Regions from separate parts of the Homo sapiens genome. Here region 2 is linked to region 1. The links are contacts of gene promoters, found by promoter capture Hi-C in human tissues and cell types (Jung and others, 2019). All regions are on one chromosome and are shown on one strand. The core of a region is centred on a gene start or on the middle of the fragment in contact, and the rest is flanking DNA. Distances in the headings are between cores, read along the strand shown. Region 1 has its middle 21 kb from the start of CTRB2. Region 2 holds the start of ADAT1 (adenosine deaminase tRNA specific 1).

Evidence for each region. Contacts are between HindIII fragments. The study calls those that stand out against the background at their distance.
Region 2: the fragment with the promoter of ADAT1 here is called in contact with a fragment that was not itself captured in region 1 in 1 of the 25 tissues and cell types used here (hippocampus).

What each region holds. Positions count from the first base shown.
Region 1 is chr16:75,184,840-75,187,539 of GRCh38, forward strand. No RefSeq gene overlaps it. Among named protein-coding and RNA genes, the nearest start is that of CTRB2, 21 kb to the right of the region's middle. The HindIII fragment of the contact is 9,756 bases long and covers 1-2,700 here.
Region 2 is chr16:75,621,979-75,624,678 of GRCh38, forward strand. ADAT1 (adenosine deaminase tRNA specific 1) reads right to left here and starts at 1,303. Exons shown (of 10, transcript NM_001324445.2): 1 at 425-1,303. RefSeq lists enhancers at 1-56, 57-576, 577-1,096, 978-1,217, 1,097-1,616. The HindIII fragment of the contact is 9,595 bases long and covers 1-2,700 here.

The DNA.
Region 1 (2,700 bases), core at 115-2,614:
GGTAGACTGAAAAGACTATGTTTCCATGGGGTAGGATTGTTAGGGTACTAGAGAAAATCTGGTTGAGTGAGGAATGCATGAAACATTACAAACAGGTTGCTATTACTAGTAGCAAGATTAATGTGTCCGAGAATAACTGGCTGAAGGAGGGAGGAGTACAGGCTCATTGGAAAAGTGGAGATGAAGAAACTGAAAAGCCAAGTATTAAATCTACATAAGCATTAAAATTATCAATTCAGATGGTAGTGTTAGAGTGGGAACTAAAATTTAAGAGATCCAGGGATCAGAAGATGACTGCTTTAAGTATCACGTGGTACGGTCTGATGGCCTGAGCATCCATGCCATGGGGTGTCAGAGAAGATGAAAGGAGAATGGTCTGGAAGCAGCGAGAAGGACATCTTCCCACCCCCAGGACCAGTGTTAAAGGGTGAAGTAGAAAAGTATAGGGAATGTTCATTAATACATAGGAAATTCTGGCCGGGCACGGTGGCTCACGCCTATAATCCTAACACTTTGGAAGGCCGAGGCTGGTCCATCAGTTGAGGTCAGGAGTTCGATACCAGCCTGGCCAACACAGTGAAACTCTGTCTCTACTAAAAAAAAATACAAAAATTAGTCAGGAGTGGTGGTGCATGCTTATAGCCTCAGCTACTGGGGAGGCTGAGGCAGGAGAATCACTAGAACCTGGGAGGCGGAGGCTGCAATGAGCCGAGATTGCACCACCGCACTCCAGCCTAGGGGACAGAGCAAGACTCCATCTCTCTCTCTCTTTTTTTTTTTTTTTTTTTTTTTTAGACAGAGTCTTGCTCTGTCCCCTAGGCTGGAGTGCAGTGGTACAATTTCGGCTCATTGCAACCTCCGCCTCCCGGGTTCAAGCGATTCTTCTGCCTCAGCCTCCCAAGTAGCTGGAACTACAGGCATGCACCACCACGTCCGGCTAATTTTTGTATTTTTAGTAGAGACGGGGTTTCACCATGTTGTTCAGTCTGTTCTTGAACTCCTGACCTCGTGATCCACCCGCCTCAGCCTCTCAAAGTGCTGGGATTACAGGCATGAGCCACCACGCCCAGCCCAAGACTCCATCTCAAAGAAAAAAAGACATAGGGAATTCTGCCCTAACCTCTGTGGTGAGTTCCAGAGGGCACAGAGGAAGATCTCTAGAAGTTGGGGAGAAGCAAGAGATGGACTCAGAAAGGGATGTAAGTGGAGGAAGTTTAGAGTGGGATCAGGCAGGGGGTGACCCAGGAATCCTGAGCCTCTTATAACTGAGCCAATAAGGACAAAAGCTTTAATGAGATCAGACCTGATAGTCTCAGAAAATGGTGGAGAAGCTGGAGTCTTGGGAGGAGGAAAGGGTAGGCATCTTGCCAAGAGCACCCAGAGTTCTGGGCCCTTCTTCACTCCTGCTAATAGAAATGAGGAAGCCTGGGGAGGTGGGTCTGACTTGGAGCACTTGAGGCTCCTTCTTGATCCTTGCCACGAGGTCATATGAGGAATATTTGAATACCATATGGTTCCTTACATACGGTAGATACCATAGAGCTCCTAAGAGTGAAAGTAGTCAGACTAATTGTGTTGACCTGGAAAAATGTTTGATAGAGTTTTAAAAGCAAGTTGCCAAAAATGTATGTATACACACACAGACAGTTGGCTTTCTGTATCCATGGATTCTGCATCTGAGGATTCAGCCAACCTTGGGTTGAATATTCAGGGAACAAAGAAAAAAATGGATGGTTGCATGTGTATTGAACACACATAGACCTTTTGTCATTATTCCCTAAATATAATGACTATAGAGCATTTAAATTGTATTAGGTATTGTAAGCAGTAGGGATGATTTAAGGTATACTAGAGGGTGTGCATAGATCACAAATACTATACCATTTTATATCAGGGACTTTAGCTTTTGGATTTTGGTATCTGCAGGAGGTCCTGGAACCAGTTCCTCATGGATTATCAAGGGACACATACACATAAATACACATACACACGGAGGGGGAGAAATGAGATGGAGGAAGGAAGATGTGACAACATACAATTGGCTAATCTAGATGAAGAGTGTATGGGTGTTCATTATACAGTCTGTTCTATACAAAATTCTAATTTTCTAATTTTGAATGAAAGAATGTTACAAGATATTATGTATAGCATTTTTTATAGAATATGTATATACATATGGAAGTATGTTATAAACTTAGACAAAAACCAGGAAGTATAACTGCCTGACATGTTCTCCTTGCCCACTGCCCAGATAGAGCCAATTTATCAAGACAGGGCAATTGTAATAGAGAAAGAGTTTAATTCATGCAGAACTGGCTGACCAAGACCGGAGTTTTATTACTCAAATCAGTCTCCCTGAAAATTCGGAGACTCGGGTTTTTTAAGGATAATTTGGTGGGTAGGGGGTCAGGGAGTGGGGTGTGCTGATTGGTTGGGTCTAGAGATGAAATAAGGGGTCAGCCGGGGGCGGTGGCTCACGCCTGTAATCCCAGCACTTTGGGAGGCCAAGGCGGGTGGATCACCTGAGGTCAGGAGTTTGACACCAGCCTGGTCAACATGGTAAAACCCTATCTCTACAAAAACACAAAAATTACCCGGGTGTGGTGGCTTGCACCTTAATCCCAGCTACTCAGGAGGCTGAGGCACGAGAATCGCCTGAACCCAGGAGGTGGAGGGAACAGTGAGCCAGGATCATGCCAC
Region 2 (2,700 bases), core at 53-2,552, 440 kb after region 1:
CTCTACTGAAAATACAAAAAAATTAGCCGGGCGTGATGGCGCGTGCCTGTAGTCCCAGCTACTCGGGAGGCTGAGGCAGGAGAATCGCTTGAACCCGGGAGGCGGAGGTCGCAATGAGCCGAGATTGTGCCACTGCACTCCAGGCTGGGTGACAGAGCGAGACTCCCTCTCAAAAAAACAAAAAAGGCTTTCCTGAGCTCCAGTGCATGCAGCTTTTGAAAGATGGTATTGTTATGAATCCCCTGCAGCGCAACGTGCAGGCTCGCTACTGTAGTGAATGCTACTGGTAAATCAGACCACAGTGATTTAAAACAAAAATCTGCAGGAAGTGAGACCCTGTGACTTGAAAGTCAGAGGGCCAGGGCAAGCCTTGTCAAGAAAAGAAAGCATGAGATCCTAGAATCCTCGTTTGGAAGGGACTCACCTCTCATTTCTAGGGAGGCATCACAAGGCAGTATAGTTTATGAAGACCACCTGGCCATCGACCTGAAATTAAACCAGAGGTGCAATTCACAAACCTCGATAGGCAAGGCAGGTAGAAGTTGCCAGAAGAAACAGTGACTCTCTTTAAGATGAAGCAGCCCAGAACGGCATCATCTCACTCAGGTAGTGCGTCTGAATGAGCATGCACAATTGTTTAAATGAATAAATGTTTTGCTACACTGGGTCCATTATAATTCGAGCCTACACCCCCTCCTAGATCTTGAAAACTTGAAGAACTTCTTAGCTGAAAATAACAGCTCAGCTAAACAGGCATTTATTTGCCCACAAGACCGCATCTCTGAACAGTTTCAACAAGCTAAAAAAACTGACGTCCTTTCCAAAGAAAAGGAAGTCGGCTGCCAGGGGAGAAAAGGCTTCAGCGATGCTTGGAGGAAGGGACTCTGGTTTACGCTGGCTCCCTTCCTAAACACTTCCGGAAGCAGAGCCCCTTCCCGGCCGCTGGAGAAGCCTGGGTGGGACCCCGAGTCGGCCAGTTACAGGATAGGAGGTGCCAGGCAAGGCACTGAAGCCATGCAGTGAGAACAGCGTGAGCGCCTGATCCATTGGGTCCTGCGGCTGCCAGGCCAGAGGCCCCGCGCCAGGAGCTCTTCAGGCGCCGGCTGCTGACAGTTCCAGGCGTGGAGCGCCTTCCCACGTGAAACGCGTCCCGGAAGATACGATCCTCACAACCTCTTCCCTCAAAAACAGACTCGGCAAAGTTAGCCCGGATAAACCTGCCCCGTCGCCCCAGCGCCTCGCGGACGCTCCCCTCCCACCTTCAGGAAACGCGCCTAGAAGAAAGCGAGCTTAATCCGCCGGTAAGGCGGACGTGACGTCACAAAGCGCCGGTTCCTTTCGGCTCCCGCTCCCAGAGGCGCGCAGTGCATGCCGGGCCCTGTAGTTTTTCCGGGGAGTCGGTGCCAGGGCCGAGATTCCCGCGCTTCAAGTCCCGCAGCCCTGGCTGCGTCTTAGAGAGGCGTGAAACCGGATGATGGGAGCCGCTTGTTGGCTTAGATATTCCTTCAACTAGAATGACGTATCTTGCAGCACTCGGCTGAATTTTTTTCTTTTTCTTTTTTTTTTTTGAGACGGAGTCTTGCTCTGTTGCTCAGGCTGGAGTGTAGAGGCGCGATCTCGGCTCACTGCAACCTTCGCCTCCCGGTTCAAGCGATTCTCCTGACTATGCTGTATTTCTATCTGTAACATCACTGTCCAATAGATATATAATTCGAACCATATACGTAATTTAAAAATTTCCAGTAGCCTCATTAAAAGTCAAAATAGAAACAATCATATATATTTTATTTAACCCATACATCCCAAATAGTATTATTTCAACATATAATCAAAAAATTTTTTGAGATGGAGTCTCGCTTTGTCGCCCAGGCTGGAAGCGGCGCAATTTCGGCGCACTGCAACCTCCGTCTCCTGGCTTCAAGCGATTCTCCTGCCTCAGCCTCCCAAGTAGCTGGGATTACAGGCGCCCGCCATCACACCCGGCTCATTTTTGTTATTTTTAGTAGAGACGGGGTTTCGCCATGTTACCAGGCTGGTCTCGAACTCCTGACCTCAAGTGATCCGCCCGCCTCAACCTCCCAGAGTGCTGGGATTACAGGCGTGAGTCACGATGCCCGGGGTCGGTCTGTCTGTCTCATATATATATATATATATATTTTTTTTTTTTTTTTTTTTTTTTTTGAGACGGAGTCTCGCTCTGTCACCCAGGCTGGAGTGCAGTGGCGCAATCTCTGCTCACTGCAAGCTCCGCCTCCCAGGTTCACGCCATTCTCCTGCCTCAGCCTCGCGAGTAGCTGGGACTACAGGTGCCTGCCACCACGTCAGGCTAATTTTTGTATTTTTAGTAGATACGGGGTTTCACCATGTTAGCCAGGATGGTCTCGATCTCCTGACCTCGTGATCTGCCCGCCTCGGCCTCCCAAAGTGCTGGATTACAGGCGTGAGCCACCGCACCTGGCTGCCGAGTCTCAATATTTTAAAAAATACTTATGTTCTGTTCTGTTTTTAATGCGAAGTTTAAGAAATCTGGTGTGTGTTACACTTAGAATACATCCCAATTTGGATCAGCCACATTTCAGATGCTGGATAGTCACATGTGGCTACTGGCTACTGTAGTACAGTACTACTACAGTGTAGTGGGCAGAACAGGTCTAAAAACCTTTGGATTGCCGGGAATAAGTAATATAGCTGCCTGGATAC